Regions from separate parts of the Homo sapiens genome. Here all the other regions are linked to region 4. The links are contacts of gene promoters, found by promoter capture Hi-C in human tissues and cell types (Jung and others, 2019). All regions are on one chromosome and are shown on one strand. The core of a region is centred on a gene start or on the middle of the fragment in contact, and the rest is flanking DNA. Distances in the headings are between cores, read along the strand shown.

Region 1 (3,600 bases), core at 254-2,753, 140 kb after region 4:
ATGTAAATTAATACAACCACTATAAAGAACAGTATGGAGGTTTCTCAAAAAACTAAAACTATCATATGATCCGGCTGCTAGATGTACATCTGCTTCTAGGTGTACACCTAGCACCAGGGAAATCAGTATATGGAGGAGATATCTGCACTCCCATGTTTATTGTAGCATTTTTCACAATAGCCAAGATTTGGAGGCAACTTAAGTATCCATCAACAGATGAATGGATAAAGAAAATGTACATATGTACGGTACCATTCAGCCATAGAAAAGAATGAGATCTTGTCATTTGCAATAGCATGGATGGAACTGGTGGAGGACATGTTAAGTGAAATAAGCCAGGCACAGAAAGACAAGTTTTGCATGTACTCACTCATTTGTGGGAGCTAAAAATGAAAACAATTGGACTCATAGAGAGAGAGTAGAAGGATGGTTACCAGAGGCTTGGCAGGGTGTATGGAGCGGGAGGGGTGGGGATGATTAATGAGTACAAGAATATAGTTAGATGGAATAAATAAGATCTTGTATTTGATAGCACAACAGGGTGACTACAGTCTGCAGTAATTTGTGGTACATTTTAGAATAATTTAGGGAATAGAATTGGGATGCTTGTAACACAAATAAATGAATGATTTAGATGATGGCTACCCCATTTATCCTGATGTGATTATTATACATTGTATGCTTGTATCAAAATATTTCATGTACTCCATAAACATATACACCTCCTGTATACCCACAAAAATAAAAAAAGACATCACTAGGCAAATAGGAATTTTTCAGCTCCATTATTGGAGCTGAAATGTAGATGCAGTACATTACCGACCAAGCTGTCATATGGCGCATGATTGAATTCTGATCTACAGGTAGACTTTTCAGACTTTGCAAAAGTGGTTTCAAAAGAATTGTTGTTAGGTTTTTCTCATTTGTACCTTCCCTGAAGCAGATGTGGTAGTTTTACATTTTAGAGACTTTTCACCACTTCTGGCTGAAAGCAGTAGGGAATATACCAGAGATTATGATACATAATTTATAATAAAATTTACCAGACCCCACAATGGAAGCAATTGCACACTCAGTCAAAACTTTCTCTTACTATGACCTACTTTAGGTCAATTTCTAGAAAGATACTATAAGTAAAAGCAGGATAATGATGGTGGGAATGTCAAAAGTTTCATTTAAACCTCAACAGTAGGGTCAAATCTGCTATGTGGTTTCTGTTTCAGTCTCAAGGAGGCTGAAAAGGTGAATTCCTGTAACAGCATCTTTTGCATCCTCAGCACGTGATCACAGAGGTTACTATCATAGCTAATCAGCTTTATAATATCAGTAATATGAAAAAGCCATGCTATTCAGATGTATTAATTTTTGCATGTTTGTTTTCAAGAGGTGAGCATTTTAAATGTAACTTGGAGTAAAAAACTTTATAGGCTTTGTATGTTAATTTCACATGTGGAAATGTAAATACTATTCCAGTAGGAAAATACTGCAACAATTGATTGCAAAAGCTATTCATTGTCTATTATAAACAACTAATTTTTAAGGTAATTATGCAAGGAAAAAGATGAATGGATACTGCACATATCAACTAATAAGTCACACAAGGAAGGAAAGCCAGCTAACTTGCAAACAATTAATGTTTGATAGAAAAATGTTGGCTTTTAGAGATGATTATGCAGTTTACCTCTGTTGGTCCCTTCCCTCCAACATGTTCTTCAAAATTGTCTTCAGTATTCTTGGTCCTTCGCTCTTCCATGTGAATTTTAGGATGAGCTGGCCAATTACCCCCCTTCCCCAATTTTTAGATACCATGAACAAGATTTTTATAAGTATAACTTTTGCATGTCTTTTTGTGAACATAATTTTGATTTTTTTTGGGTAAATATCTAGGAGTGGAGTAGCTGGGTCTTAGGGTAGATAAGGAGTTGGCAACCTTTTTTTGTTTGAAAGTAAATACATTTTTGTCTGGATAGCAAATATATTTTAGATTTTGCAGGCCCCTGTGGTCGCTGTTACATATGCTTCTTTTTGTTTTGTTTTGTTTTGTTTTAACAACACTTTAAAAATGTGAAAACTATTGTTAGCTTGAGAGCTGTGCAAAAACAGCCCTTGGATCAGATTTGGCCAGTGGGTAGACAGTATTTTGCTGATGCCTAGAATAAATACATGCATGTTTAAATTTATAAGAAGCTGCTAAATAGTTCTCCTTCATGGTTGTATCATATTTTACTCCCTCCAGAAATGTCTAGGTCAGGGTGCTTTTGTGTCCTTGCCAACACTTGGTGTTTTCAGTCCATTTGATTTTGTGTTTTATTTTTAAGTGGTTGTGAAGCAGTATGTCATTGTGTTTTTAATTTTAGATTTTCCTGATGAATACTGATGTTGAGTACTTTTTTGTGTTATTGGTCATTCATTTATATTTTTTTCTGAAGCATTTCTTCAAACATAATGAAAAAAATTAGAAAAGTAGTACCAGTATATTGGTATCAGTTTACTGTTATATACCAGTATAACGGTATCTGTATACCCTTCACCTAGATTCAGCAATTGTTAACATTTTGGCTTGTTTGCTTTATATTTGTATCCATATGTACATTGTGTGTGTGCATTTTTTTTTTTTTTGGCTAAACAATTTGAAAATAAGTTACAGGACATGGATGAAGCTGGAAACCATCATTCTCAGCAAACTATCACAGGGACAGAAAACAAAACACTGCACGTTCTCACTCATAGGTGGGAATTGAACAATGAAGACACTTGGACACAGGGTAGGGAACATCACACACTGTGTCCTGTTGTGGGGTTGGGGGATGGGGGAGGGATAGCATTAGGGGAAATACCTAATGTAAATGACGAGTTGATGGGTGCAGCAAAACAACATGAGACATGTATACCTATGTAACAAACCTGCACGTTGTGCACATGTACCCTAGAACTTAAAGTATATATATATATGTAAAAAAAGCAGCATTAAAAAGAATCCCCTGGACAGGAAAAAGAAAAAAAAAGAGGCCGGGCGTAGTGGCTCACGCCTGTAATCCCAGCACTTTGGGAGGCTGAGGCGGGCAGATCATGAGGGCAGGAGATCGAGACCATCCTGGCTAACACGGTGAAACCCTGTCTCTACTAAAAATACAAAAAATTAGCCAGGCGTGGTGGCAGGCTCCTGTGGTCCCAGCTACTTGGGAGGCTGAGGCAGGAGAATGGTGTGAACCCGGGAGGCGGAGCTTGCAGTGAGCTGAGATCGTGCCACTGCAGTCCAGCCTGGGCGACAGAGCAAGACTCCATCTCAAAAAAAAAGAAAAAAAAAAAAAAAGAAAATAAGTTACAGACATTGTGGCATTTTACCCGTAAATACTATTCATCTCGCAGTAATAAGTATGGTTTTCTACATATCTATAATACCTTATGAAACCTAAGAAAATAACTCATTATTCTATAATATCATGTAATATGCCTACCACATTCAGGTTTTTCCAGTTGACCCCAGTTGTCCTTTTTAATATTTTTCTTTGATCCACAGTTCAATCAAGGTTCATGAGTTACATTTGTTTATTATACCTCTTTAGTCTCTTAATCTAAAATAGTGCCCCTATTCTCCCT
Region 2 (3,638 bases), core at 1,077-3,576, 230 kb after region 4:
ATATTAATAAAATATATACCATATGGCAATATATTTACTATATAAATATGTTTAAATATAATGCCAACCCTAACCCAAAATAGGGTATGTATATAAAACAAATTTATATTATAATAATCATACTGTATTAATAAAATGCACATAACATTTTTCTCATATATAATGTATATAACAATATAGAAGTATAATTAAATAAAGTCTACATTTTATGTGAGACAAAACAACTCCTGTGTTCATAGCAATATTTTCCATTACAATTCAAAATTGCAGAACTTTAACCTCTTTGTTGCCTCTGTGTATCTTCATTCTTCTGGATTCAGAATTCTGACTCTCAAGGATAGGGGAAATGACAGAATTAGAGTATCTCACAATTGCTTATTTGTCTTGTCCTGTGCTATACACAGAGCAATCTCAGGATAACAATGTTAATACCACTACCAATATGATTACTAAAAACATTAAAAATGTATTTGTACATAATCTTCCTGTAATATTAAAAAAAAAGTTGTACTATATCTATATTGTCAGAAAATGTGGCTGTTATCTATAAGGTTTTATATATATATCTCCTTAGCTTTCATTTAGTTTTAGCTCTACAAGTAAATCCCGACTCTTTTTGTTGATATCTCTTTTGTCATTTTAGTTTCCTGAAGCTCATTCTCTAGTACAGGAGTGGGCAAACCTTTTCTGTAAGGAGCCAGAGGGGAAATATTTTTGGCTTTGTAGGCCCTATGATCTCTGCTAGTACTCATTCTTATTCTTATAGTGAGAAAGCAATCACAGACAGTGTAAACTATGAGCATGGTGGCTACGTTTCAGTTTCATATAATTTTTATGTGTAATGATACAGTATTTAAAAAAATTTTTGCCTAACCCCCACCCCCAATAATTAGTAAAATCTTTTCTTAGATCATGGACTGTACAAAAACAGGCAGTGAGGCTAGGTGTGGTGGCTGTCACCTGTAATCCCTGCATTTTGAGAGGCTGAGGTGGGCGGATCATCTGAAGTAGGAGTTTGAGACCAGCCTGACCAACATGGTGAAACCCCGTCCCTACTAAAAATACAAAATTAGCTGGGCGTGGTGGTGCATGCCTGTAATCCCAGCTACTTGGGAGGCTGAGGCAGGAGAATCGCTTGAACCCGGGAGCTGGAGGTTGCAGTGAGCTGAGATTGCACCATTGCACTCCAGCCTGGGCAACAAGACTGAAACTGCGTCTCAAAAAAAAAAAAAAAAAAAAAAAAAAAAAAACCAAAAGCAGGGAGTGAATGGGCCAGATTTGGCCTACACACTAGTTTGCAAACCTCTGTTGTATTGGACTTCTCAGAGTTTATGAGTTCTTGCATGTTGTTAAATTTTCTCTGCCTTTCATAGTTGCACTGACTTCTATGGATTTAAAATTCTTAGCTTGACTCAGCCTGGTGGCTCATGCCTGCAATCCCAACACTTTGGGAGACTGAGGCAGGAGGATCACTTGAGGCCAGGAGTTTGAGACCATCATAGGCAACATAGCAAGACTCCATCTCTACCCAAAAAAAAAAAAAAAAAAAACTGGGCACAGCAGTACACATCTGTAGGCCTAGCTACTTGGGAGGTCAAGATGGGAGGATCACTTGAGCCCAGGAGTTTGAGGCTGCAGTGAACTATAATGGCACCCCTGCACTCCAGGCTGGGTAACAGAGCAAGACCCTGTTCCACGAAAAGAACATAAAATTATTAGCTCATACTTTCTTTCCTTGAATTTCTTACTCAAAAGAGTTTATTATTCCATTTTCTTTTGGTATAAAATGTTGCTGTCAAAGTCTGATGATTATTTAAATTTCTCTTTTGTATAAGTTACCTATTCCTGTTTTTTTTTTTTTCATTTTCTTTTACTTAAGTAATATTGCTAGAATTTTTCTTGGTATGTTGGTCATCCTGGAATGAATTTCTCCTGTAGTGTGGTCTTTTAATATGTATTTTTAGTTCAAGTAAATTTTCTTGAGTTGTATTTTTAATATTTGCTCTTTTTTTTGCTTTGGTTCTCTTCAAGGATTCCTATTATTCATATGTTGGATGTTCTTTTTTATTTTCAATATTTCTCATCTTCTGTATTATTTATTCATTTTTTATATTTAAATTAAATATTTTTATTTTCAATTTGTCTTTCTCATAAGGCATTGTCTGTTTTCCTTATTCACTCTTACATTCTTTGTAGCTGTTTTCATTTCTGGAATGATTTTCTTTTTCATTTCTAGTTGTATCCTGAGTTCTGTCATCTCATTTCTGAGCTTTTCTAAATCTGATTTATACTATTTTATGTTATGTGTCACTTAAAAATGTCTTTTAACTTGTTTTGAAATATTAGATGATAGGCCAGGTGCGGTGGCTCACGCTTGTAATCCCAGCACTTTGGGAGGCCAAGGTAGGCGGATCACGAGATCAGGAGTTCGATACCAGCTTGGCCAACATAATGAAACTCCGTCTCTACTAAAAATACAAAAAAAATTAGCCGGGCGTGGTGGTGCGCGTCTGTAGTCCCAGCTACTTGGGAGGCTGAGGCAGGAGAATTGCTTGAACCTGGGAGGTGGAGGTTGCAGTGAGCTGAGGTCGCGCCACTGCACTCCAGCCTGGGTGACAGAGTGAGACTCCGTCTCAAAAAAAAAAAAAAAAAGAAATGAGATGATAGTTTTGATCTATTGTATTGGTATGTTTTTCTCCTGTGCTTTCCTGCCCTACATGGATGTTACTCTGGTCCCTTTTTCTTTGCCTTATAAAAACATTGTATTGGGGCCAGGCATGGTGGCTCACGCCTTTAATCCCAGAACTTTGGGAGGCCGAGGCGGGTGGATCACTTGAGGTCAGGATTTCGAGACCAGCTCGGCCAACATGGTGAAACCCTGTCTCTACTAAAAATATAAAACCATATTAGCCCGGCATGGTGGGGGGTGCCTGTAGTCCCAGCTACTTGGAGGCTGAGGCAGGAGAATTGCTTGAACCCAAGAGGCGGAGATTGCAATGAGCCAGGATTGCACCGCTGCACTCCGGAGTGAGACTTCGTATCAAGACAAAAAACAAAAAAAATTATGTTGGATTTTACCTTGATATTTTATTTCACTTAGTTTAATGTGTAAAATTGGTTTTTCTCTACATTTCTTTTTAAAGAGCCATGTATTTTAAAATCAGTGACTCATGTCCAAGAAGTTCAAACACGAGTAGAGATAGCAGGAAGTGGTTTATTCTGAGGTCTTGAAAAGAATGAATTAACCCTGTAATCTCCCCAGTATTCTTTTTGATGTTCCTATTGACATCACTATATTCAGTGGGTGCTCCTTTCTATCTGCTACATTAGTTTTTGAAAGCTTTCTTTCTGACTCAGTTTATCTCATGTGCTAACTTCCTGAACCAATCCTGGAACTGGCCTTTTCTACCAGAAACACTCTTTTCTTTTATCATGGAATAGTATTAAAAACCACAATCTGGATCTTTTGGACAGTTCAGCTGTTTTTCCGTGGCTTTTTTTTTTTTTTCGAGACAGGGTCTTGCTCTGTCATCCAGGCTGGAGTGCAGCGGTGCAGTCTCGGCTCACTGCAGCCTCTACCCGCTGGGCTCAAGCAATCCTCCTACCTCAGCTTCCTGAGTAGCTGGGACCACATGGGA
Region 3 (3,413 bases), core at 589-3,088, 180 kb before region 4:
CACACAGTGACCCTTCCCCACCGTGGGAAACAGGAATGGGAGGGCAGCTGCAGGTGGGCTGGGATTGTCTGGGGAGAGCTGGCCACCCTCAGTAGAGGGGGCAGGGGAAGCACCTGGTTGAGTGGGGATCAGAGCAGCCGCTCTCTTCTCAGCCAGCTGCTCCACGTGGCAGAGTACTCAGGACAACCAGGAGGGCCGCCTTGTTGCAGCTGCCTTCCTCGGTGAAACACAGAGGAAGGCAAATGCCTTCTAAGTGGCAGTCAGTGCTTTGGCAATCCCTCCACCCCACACCCCACCCTACGCCCCACCCCTGGAGTTTCTCAACTGGGCCATGCTCTTTGAATGCTTCTCCTGCCAAGGCCTAAAAGAAGGTGAGTGGTTGTGGAGGCGAGAACAACTGGAGGCTGTGCTGTAGAGAAGGGAGTGCAGCTATGACCCCCACAGTGAGCCCCTTCCTAAGTGCCTCTTCCCCAAACAGAAATTCCTGCAAGGCCTCCTGTAGTCACCTGTTAGACTGCAGAACCGGGGAGGCACTCCATTTGTCAGTGTGAGTTGCTCAGAAAGAAACGCCCAATATCATTCAAAGTTATTGGCTTATTATTAGTCTTTATTATTAATTTATTAGTACTCTTTATTATTATTACTTTAATTGCCATACAGATGGAGGGTCCTTTCCACCTGAGCATATATATTCTCTCTACTTTGTGCTCTCATTTATACTTCTTCTTGTGCACATGTGCATACATAACACACACACACACACACACACACACACACACACAAAGTACGTAGACCTTAAAGCCCCATTTATGCTTACATAGACACACCGTACACATACACGAATCCATTTGGCTAACTTTTAAATTCCTCAGTGCTGTCACTTTTGTTGAAATAAATTAGTGGAGTGGCTAGGTGTATACTTCCCACAGCGAGCCAGTGAACTAATGTGCAGGGAATGATTAAATGTATACAGGGGCATGGGGAGCCAACTCCTCTTCAATAGGGGTGTGAAATTAGGATGGGAAGGCTCCTCTCCCAGGTGCCTTGCTTTTATTAAAAGACTTAAGAGCTCAGGAGATGTCTTCAATAGGAATTAGGATATCTGAGTCTTTCTGGAACAGTGTGGAAAGCTGAACTGTGCTTAGGAACTCTGCAAGGTCTTTTTGATCCTTAAAGGTTCTGATATAAAAACCTATCCAGGTTTTTATAAAAGTAGTAAAGTGTTTTCAGTCTTTTATTAATCTCTTCATACCCTTAAATAACCTTTCCCCTTTTGAACAGTAATTGTTAAAAAATAAATAAAAAACAACAAAAAATTTTTTCTCATTGTTTTATTCTTCAAACCAGGCATCCTCTTAATGCAAGGATTCAAATATCTCTATTAGGGTCATAATAGTCAGCAATTTCCATTTAATGAGATCAGCAAAGTCTCTTTTCAAAGAGATGCAGGCTTTAAATTGCCAGTTATTTCTTTTCCTGCAATTCCTAGGAATCCAATTAAGTAAGACTGAGTATGATCTATAATGTGATATATCTGGCTACAGAAAGCCCGGGCCTAGGCAATAAAACAGATCTTTGAGCTCCAGCTCAAAATTAAGATTAAAAAAAAAAAAAAGAAAGAAAATGCAGCTTAAATGATTCAAAGCTTTATAAATGTGGAAACTGCATCCATTTCCTCTAATATGAAGTAAGAAATAGCTTCGAGACTATGGTGAAAATCATTAAAGTTACTTATTCCAAATATAGCTACTAATTAAAATCTCTCCGTTGGACCAGGACCACAGGTGATTTTTACAAAATAAATTTAAGAGGTTTTGGTTTGCTAAATCTGTGACTAACGAATCAAATATGTGGCCAGGCGCCGTGGCTCATGCCTGTAATCCCAGCACTTTGGGAGGCCGAGGCAGGCAGATCACCTGAGGTCAGGAGTTCGAGATCAGCCTGGCCAACATGATGAAACCCTCTCTGCACTAAAAATACAAAAATTAGGTGGGCATGGTGGCACACACCTGTAATCCCAGCTTCTGGGAGGCTGAGGCAGGAGGATCACTTGAACCCAGGAGGTGGAGGTTGCAGTGAGCCAAGATTGCACCACTGCACTCCAGCGTGGCTGACAAGAGCAAGACTCCATCTCAAGAAAAAAGATTCAAGTGTATATAACCACTGCCAAAATAAAGAGAAGATAGTGTGAAATCATGCAGAGAACATGCTTCATATCAAAACATAGTATTCTTTTCAGTTTTTAAAAATTTCATTTGCCACAATTTATAACAGTATTAAATACTATATTTTCATTTATTATTATTATTATTATTATTATTTTGAGATGGAGTCATATGCTGTCACCCAGGCTAGAGTGCAGTGGTGCTGTCTTGGCTCACCACAACCTCCACCGTCTGAGTTCAACCAATTCTCATGCCTCAGCCTCCCGAGTAGTTGGGATTACAGGCATGTGCCACCACACCTGGCTAATTTTTGTATTTTTGGTAGAGGCAGGATTTCACCATGTTGGCCAGGCTGATCTAGAACTCCTGACCTCAGGTGATCCATCTGTCTTGGCCTCCCAAAGTGCTGGGATTATAGGTGTAAGCCACCACACCCAGGCTAAATACTATGTTTTTAATAATAAATCAGTGGGTGTATTTTAAGTCATAATTTAGTATTCTGATTTAGAGACAGAGTTCAGCAATAATATCATACTTTTGCCATGTATTTTTAAATATATCAAAGCTTCTCAGGATGGTGGTAGTGGTGGTTTAAATCTTATTCTGTACCGGCTATGCAGGCCGCATGGTGTTTTGCTGATAACAGAGGAGGAAAGTGTGGCTCGTGAGGAGCAAATGTCAAGTCAGGAATTAACTCAAGACACAGCCTGCCCTTCTACTAAAAATGTGCTATTTCAAATATGTTTTTGCAATTTCCTCCATGTAATGCAGTTGTGTTAGCCATTTATTGGTCAGAAATTAACCTCCAAAAGTTAACAGTTGGGCCCTGAATTCTCAGCCAAGTCTAGTCTAAGAAGCAGCATATTCTTGGGCAAGTTATTGATTAACTCCAGGTAATTAAACCAAAAAGACTTTTCTAGGGCCAGGGATAGTGGCTCACACCTGTAATCCTAGCACTTTGGGAGGCTGAGGAGGGAGGATCACTTGAGGCCAGGAGTTCAAGATCAGCCTGGGCAACATAGTGAGATCCCACCTCTACAAAAGAAAAAAAAATTACCCAGGCATGGTGGCATGTGCTTGTGGTCCCAGTTACTCAGGAGTCTGAGATGGGAAGATTGCTTGAGCCCAGGATGTTGAGACTGCAGTGGGCCATGATCATGCCACCAAACTCCAGCCTGGGTGACAGAGTGAGAACCTGTCTCAAAAACACAAAAAACAAAAACTCTCCCTAAACATCTGTCAAAAGAG
Region 4 (3,120 bases), core at 187-2,686:
GCTCCACCGTGACGTGATTCACCAGCTCGTGCATGGTGCCGAAAGTTTTGGAGCAGGGCTTGGCGCCGCCGGCCGGGGGCGGTGGCGGCGGCGGCGGCGGCGGCGGCGGCGGCGGCGGCAGCCCGGCCAGCTCGTCGGGGTCGATCCACTTGCAGATGAGCTCCTGCTTGATTGGCTGCCGCATGTAGCGCAGGAAGGCCCCAGCCGCCCCTGGGAGGTGGGGGTGGTGCTGGTGCGGGTGCTGCGCGGGCGCCGGCGGCGGCGGCGGCGCCGGGGGCGGCGCGTGGTGCTGCAGGTGGGGCCCGGGCCCGGCCGCTGCTGCGGCCGCCGCAGCCGCCAGGTTCAGGTTTAAGTTCACGGCTCCGTAGCCGTGCAGGGCGGCCGCCGCTGCGGCCGCAACCGCCCCGTAGTGCGCGTCCCCAGAGCGCGGCGCGAAGGGCGGTTCGGCGCGGCCGTACAGCTCAGCCGCCGCGGCTGCCGCTGCCGCCGCCAGCCCCAGGCGCATCTGGCCGTTGAGCGGGTGCGGGTGGCCGCCTGGGGCCCCCGGCGTGTCGTGCAGCGCGGGGAAGAGCGCCGGGCCGCCGCTGCCGTCCGGGCCCGCGTAGGTGCCGCTGGCGGAGATGAACATGCCGGCCGAGTGGGGAGGCGGGGCCGGGTGCTGGGGGGAGCCGGTGCCGGACCGCTGCTCCCCTCCGAGCGGGGCCCCGTGCATGGCCGCCGCGGGGGCCGTGGCGGAAAGGTCCCTCCGGAGGACGAAGTCCCTGCTGTGGCCTTTGCCGCTGCTGCCGCCGCCGCCACTGTTGGTGGTGGTGTAGCCCGAGAGGGCAGGAGGAGGAGGAGGCGGGGGAGGGGGAGGGGGTGAAGGGGTGGGAGGAAGAGGAGGGGCTGGGGGCGGGGGCGCGGAGGGCTGCGCGCCACTGCTGCCCCCGCCGCAGGGGTAGCTGCCCGCGCCGGGGTGCGCGACCAAGGCTGCAGCACGGGCGGCGGCTGCCGGAGCCTCCGGGTGTGCCGGGAACGCCTGGGAGGGAGGGCTGAGGCCCAGCGTGCTCGCCTGGGCCATGTGCTCGGGTCCGAGCGGAGTGGTGGCCACGCCGGGGTCAGCGCCCAGGTCCCGCAGGCGGAGGTGCGCGACGGCGGCCCGGAGTTGGGAGTGGGCGGGCGGGCCGGCCAGCGCCGGGAAGCCTGTCATATTCTGAAGCGGCTGGACCTGAGCCGTTGCCAAATCCGCTAATCTCAGCGCTGGCGGGTTCCTCTTGCTCAAAGGGGGCTCCATCAGAACTACACAATCAGGCCCATAGACCCTCACTGGGGGGACTTTATTCCCTCTGCCCGCCTTCAAAAACATGTATGTATTGGGCGCTCTTTAACTTCTTTTGTCCTGGCCTCTTAACTCTGCTTATTCCTGTTCCCACTCTATCCTCCAGCGATTGGCAGAGTGAACACCACATTTGAGCTGCACAGTGGGACCGAGATTTTGGAAATGGCACGGGTGGGATTGGAGGGAGCCGCGTGATTGGCAGTAGCCTCGGCTGCTCGATTGGCTCCCGTTCAGGCCCTCGACCCAGCGGGGATTCGCCCCCGTGCTTGCGGCCGCCTGCGCTTTCGCTTCGCGCCCCCTCCTCCGCTGGAGCCACACGTCCCCGCCTCCCCGGGGATGCCCAAGTTGCACTTGCAGAAAGTTTGAGCCTGGCCTGCGCGCGCAGCGCCCCGCTCTTCCTTGACGCACCTCGCGGAGCGCGCGCCGGCACGCGGGCAGAGGGCGCGGGGTGGTGAGGGGCTGAGGACCCCCGAGGGGCAGTCCCAGTTTCAAAAACCTTGGCCTCACTTCTCTGTGTGCCTTCTGGCACCCAAGTACTTTCTGCCTCTACCTCCACCTCTCTTGTGGGGTGGAAGAGCCCTGGGCTGCTGTTTGGGAGAGAAGGGTGAATAGCCCGTCCTACCTGTAGTGGTGATGCTAGAAACTTCTTGTTTGGACACCCAACCTGCCTAGCGCTCACCTAGGGCGCATAGACAGTAGACGGAGTGAAGAAGATAAAGTCTATTGGTTGCAAGACAACTTGAGTGATTTGGCTCCGCGAAACACCAGGTGAAGTCAAAATAAGTCTTTCCCCCAAAGGAACCGTTTTACCTCGACTTTTTATCTCATGGAGAGTCCTTTTCAACATGGTTCAAAGGAGTTGGATGGAAGTGTAATCTCACTACTCATCGGTTCTAGATCTGCCACTTCCAATTAGATCTACAGTAGGGGCGGGGGAGAGGAGATCGGGCAGCGATTCTAACTTTTGCCTTTCGGAGATACAGTGGCGGGGCAGGCCAAACGGCATCTCTGCAGAGAGAAGCCGCTAAATAAGCACCGTCCTTTAAGTAGAATTTCTCCTTCCGGTCCAGATCCCAGTCCACAGTCCACATGTATGCCTCAGTTTCTTTGACTGATCCACAATTAGAACTGATCCAATAAAATATTATTTTGAAATCAAGAAATATCTTTGCTTTTTATTTACTGATAGAATAATCTTTCACCTTTTTATCGTTTTCTCATAAACCAGTCTACCTCTAAGATGTCTTATTTGAAAACCATAAAAACTGGCTTTTAAAAAAGCGAATCCCATCCCTTTCCAGAGGTTTGGTATCAAATCGATTTTTTAAAAATAGAAATTCCCTGCATCACTTTTTGGTGGGCGGAGAAATGTGGGACCCTCCCCCCAAATTAAGGATTTTACTGCCCCAAAAGTGTCCTTTTCAGATTTTAAAAGAAAGCATTTTTGAAATTTGTGATGTTACAAAATGCTCAAATATTAAAGCCAGGATTTTAAAATTTGTATTTTGCTGTCATCCGTAACATTACTTGTAAAAAAAAAAAAAGTGATAATGATTAGAATGTGATCTTTTTCTTTGGGGATACAATAAAATATGTTTCCAACTTAATTCATTTGCAGTCCAAGTAAAAGTAGACTGCACAAAGCCGTTATTGGGGAGATGGCCGTGGGAAGTAATCAGAAATATTCTGAAAAGAGTTGATTCGATAGTGCCATTCACATTGGTGTGAACGATGTTTAACAGGGGGCTTCGGTATGAGACTTAGGAATGTCATTTCTTTTATAAAACTGACAAGCAAACAAA
Region 5 (3,393 bases), core at 495-2,994, 220 kb before region 4:
CCCAGGCCAGGGCAGTCTGGCCAGGGTAAACCAGACTGTCTACCCTGCCCCCTCCTGCTGCTGTCCTCCTGCTGCTGTCCCTGCGCTGCTGTCTTCCCTCCTGCCATCCTGGGCACTTGCTGGGGGCACCTCTTTCCTTCACCGGCTCCCACCTTCTTTGTGTCACCCCCTCATGGCTCAAAGGCCCCACCTGCAGTATCTCATGGGCCAAGCTTATGCTTGTGGCCTCTCCCTAGCTTTCAAAGGATGTGGAGAAGGACCGTGGGGTCTCTGCCTCCACCCCCACCAAACAGGAAGGGTGTTCCTGTCTGGGACAGCCAAAAAGGAAAAATTCTCTGAACCCAGTGGAAGACAGACAGTGAACAAGTAAACAAAGCCAATAATTCATTTCAAAAGGGGAAGGCCTGTGAAGGGAAGGGCGGGGTTCTGGAGGACAGCATCCCAGGAGGGGGCATGGGGAAGGTCCTGCTGAGGACAGGGCATGTAGGCTGAGCCTTGAGGGATGAGAGGGTGGCAGACATGCTGAGATCCAGAAGAGCCTTCCAGAGAGGGAACCACTTATGGGATGGTCCCGAGGTGAGCAGGAAGATGTGGTGTGTCAGGGAACTGGCAGCAGATACCTGTAACTGAGGGTGGTAAGCAGAGGAGACGGATGGGCCAGGCAGCCAGGAGCCTGCCAATCTGGGTGAGACATTTGGTTTTTAATGTGAGAACACTGGGAAGCCATGGAAGGGGCTCAAGCAGAGGAGCATCATGATTTGATTTGTGTTTTTTAAAGTCCAGACTGGCTGTGGTGTGGAGAAGGGACTGGAGAGGGACAGAGGCCCCAGGAACCAGTCGGGAGTAAGGTGGTGGTGTCTTGGGCCAGGGTGGGAAAGATACAGTGCAGAGGTGCGTGCAAGGCACAGTTAACGCCCATGTATGTTAGCTCTCCAGTTTGTAATGTAGAGTAGGATGTAAGTCCCATCCTAAAGGCCCTGGCAGGGAGCTGGAATGCATGGAATACCTGATTGATACTGGGTTTGATTAGTACGTCTTTAAAATTTATTGATACATTTACCTACATTTATTAAAATGACTTAGAATTTATTGTGCTGTTAGAGTTATTATTTTAGTGGCAATCTCTTTTTAACTTCATTTTGAATTTAAAGAGTGATGTTATGACTTTCTAAAGCCCTGAACCAAGTTATTTTCTGCACTTAGTCAAGTCTGGACTGCTACTTATATGACTCAAAAGTATTATGACATTGGCCGGGCGCGGTGGCTCATGCCTGTAATCCCAGCACTTTGGGAGGCCGAGACGGGCGGATCACCTGAGGTCAGGAGTTCGAGACCAGCCTGGCCAACATGGTGAAACCCCATCTCTACAAAAATACAAAACTTAGCTGGGCATGATGGCAATGCCTGTAATCCCAGCTACTCAGGAGGCTGAGGCAGAAGAATCGCTTGAACCGGGGAGGCAGAGGTTGCAGTGAGCCAAGATCATGCCATTGCACTCCAGCCTGGGCGACAAGAGCGAAACTCGGTCTCAAAAAAAAAAAAAAAAAAAAAAAAAAAAGTATTAGGACTTGGCCGGGTGTGGTGGCTCATGCCTATAATCTCAGCACTTTGAGAGGCCAAAGTGGGCGGATCGTTTGAGCCCAGGAGTTCGAGACCAGCCTGGTCAACATGGAGAAACCCCATTTCTACAAAAAGTACAAAATTTAGCCGGGCATGGTAGCACGTGCCAGTAGTATCAGGTAATCACTACTTGGGAGGCTGAAGTGGGAGGGTCACCTGAGTCAGGGAGGTGGAGGTTGCTGTGAACTGTGATTGCATCACTGCACTCTAGCCTGGGCAACAGCGTGAGACCCTGTCTCAAAAAAAAAAAAAAAAAAAAAAAGAGGAGAGATGGAGTCTCACTCTGTTTCCTAGACTGGTCTTGAACTCCTGGGGTCAAGCAATCCTCTCACCTCAGTCTCCGAAATAGCTGGGACTGCAGGCACACACCACTATGCCCAGCTCTTCTAGATGATCTTTTTTTGTTGTTGTTGTTTTTTTTTTTGGAGACAAAGTCGCGTTCTGTAGCCCAGGCTGGAGTGCAGTGGCATGTTCTCAGCTCACTGCAACCTCCACCTCCTGGGTTCAAGTGATTCTCCTGCCTCAGCCTCCCAAGTAGCTGGGACTACAGGCGTGTGCCACCATGCCCAGCTTTTTTTTTTTTTTTTTGTATTATTAGTAGAGACGGGGTTTTACCGTGTTGGCCAGACTGGTCTCGAACTCCTGACCTCGTGATCCACTCGCCTCAGCCTTCCAAAGTGCTGGAATTACAGGCATGAGCCACCCCACCCAGCCTAGATGATCTCTTTTTTTTTTTTTGAGACGGAGTCTCACTCTGTTGCCCAGGCTGAAGTGCAGTGGCGCAATCTCGCCTCACTGCAAGCTCCGCCTCCCAGGTTGACGCCATTCTCCTGCTTCAAACCCCCGGGTAGCTGGGACTACAGGCACCTGCCACCACGCCCGGCTAATTGTTTGTATTTTTAGTAGAGACAGGGTTTCACCATGTTAGCCAGGATGGTCTCGCTCTCCTGACCTCGTGATCCGCCCGCCTCGGCCTCCCAGAGTGCTGGGATTACAGGCGTGAGCCACCGCGCCCGGCCCTAGATGATCTCTTTTAAGTAGATACTCATTGTTATGATTTCTGTCCTCCTCTTTTCTGGGCCACAGGGGGCCCAGGAGGAAGTGTACAAACCATGTCATGGCAGCCTTCCCTGTGGGCTCCAGTGAAGTTGCTCATGTGTCTTGGCCCTTGGTGACTGGTCTCTGATGCCGTACTAATGGTCAGTGGACCTGTGATCTGTTCTTGGGGTACAGGAAATGCATGAGGTGTGCCCAGTGGGTGTGATCATGGCCCTGCAGACAGGGCAGCTCCTGCCTCTTCTCTCCCTGTTGCTGTCTGTCACCCAACACCAGCCAGCCTGTTACCTCTGATATGGGCGCCCTCACTCCTGGACTCTGACAGCTCCCTTGCAGGCACACTGCCAAAGGGTCAGTCGAAACTTCTGGATTCTTCCATCCTCAGGGAATGGATAGCATGCCACTGTTGCCCTTCTCTGCCTGAGCAATCTATATTGCTGTGTCTGCTCTTCTCTGTGCCCCACGTTGATGCAGAGCTCCCATGAAGTCTCCCAGAGGGTGAGTGGGAAGTTGGCACACCCCCTCAGTTTGGACATTCCCATTGCCTCTCTAGTCACTGTCACTGTCCTGCATGTTCCTGGGATGGGGGAGTAGACCAGGCAGAACCTTCAGCCCTGTCTCATTACTTGGGCTCTCCCCACCGAACCGCTGTCAGCATCTGAAGGGCTTTGTCTTGCCCGTGACAAGGACTTCACTTCAAATCCCCCATTCCTTTCT

What was found. The method cuts DNA at HindIII sites, captures the fragments that hold promoters and counts their contacts. A contact is called where the count stands out against the background at its distance.
Region 1: a contact is called between a fragment that was not itself captured here and the fragment with the promoter of ZIC5 in region 4, in 1 of the 25 tissues and cell types used here (mesendoderm cells).
Region 2: a fragment that was not itself captured here is called in contact with the fragment with the promoter of ZIC5 in region 4 in 1 of the 25 tissues and cell types used here (IMR-90 fibroblasts).
Region 3: a fragment that was not itself captured here is called in contact with the fragment with the promoter of ZIC5 in region 4 in 1 of the 25 tissues and cell types used here (H1 embryonic stem cells).
Region 5: a fragment that was not itself captured here is called in contact with the fragment with the promoter of ZIC5 in region 4 in 1 of the 25 tissues and cell types used here (H1 embryonic stem cells).

The regions. Positions count from the first base shown.
Region 1 is chr13:100,114,828-100,118,427 of GRCh38, forward strand. The region is part of intron 4 of PCCA (propionyl-CoA carboxylase subunit alpha); the gene reads left to right. Among named protein-coding and RNA genes, the nearest start is that of PCCA, 28 kb to the left of the region's middle. The HindIII fragment of the contact is 8,898 bases long and covers 1-3,600 here.
Region 2 is chr13:100,200,639-100,204,276 of GRCh38, forward strand. The region is part of intron 6 of PCCA (propionyl-CoA carboxylase subunit alpha); the gene reads left to right. Among named protein-coding and RNA genes, the nearest start is that of PCCA, 110 kb to the left of the region's middle. The HindIII fragment of the contact is 3,586 bases long and covers 534-3,638 here.
Region 3 is chr13:99,792,287-99,795,699 of GRCh38, forward strand. The region is part of intron 2 of CLYBL (citramalyl-CoA lyase); the gene reads left to right. All of the region lies in intron 1 of CLYBL-AS3 (CLYBL antisense RNA 3), which reads right to left. Among named protein-coding and RNA genes, the nearest start is that of CLYBL-AS1, 65 kb to the left of the region's middle. The HindIII fragment of the contact is 4,897 bases long and covers 1-3,413 here.
Region 4 is chr13:99,970,331-99,973,450 of GRCh38, forward strand. It overlaps ZIC5 (Zic family zinc finger 5), which reads right to left and starts at 1,437. Exons shown (of 2, transcript NM_033132.5): 1 at 1-1,437. The coding sequence starts at 1,273. The HindIII fragment of the contact is 23,774 bases long and covers 1-3,120 here.
Region 5 is chr13:99,752,558-99,755,950 of GRCh38, forward strand. All of the region lies in intron 1 of CLYBL (citramalyl-CoA lyase), which reads left to right. All of the region lies in intron 4 of CLYBL-AS3 (CLYBL antisense RNA 3), which reads right to left. Among named protein-coding and RNA genes, the nearest start is that of CLYBL-AS1, 25 kb to the left of the region's middle. RefSeq lists an enhancer at 1-357. The HindIII fragment of the contact is 4,623 bases long and covers 1-3,393 here.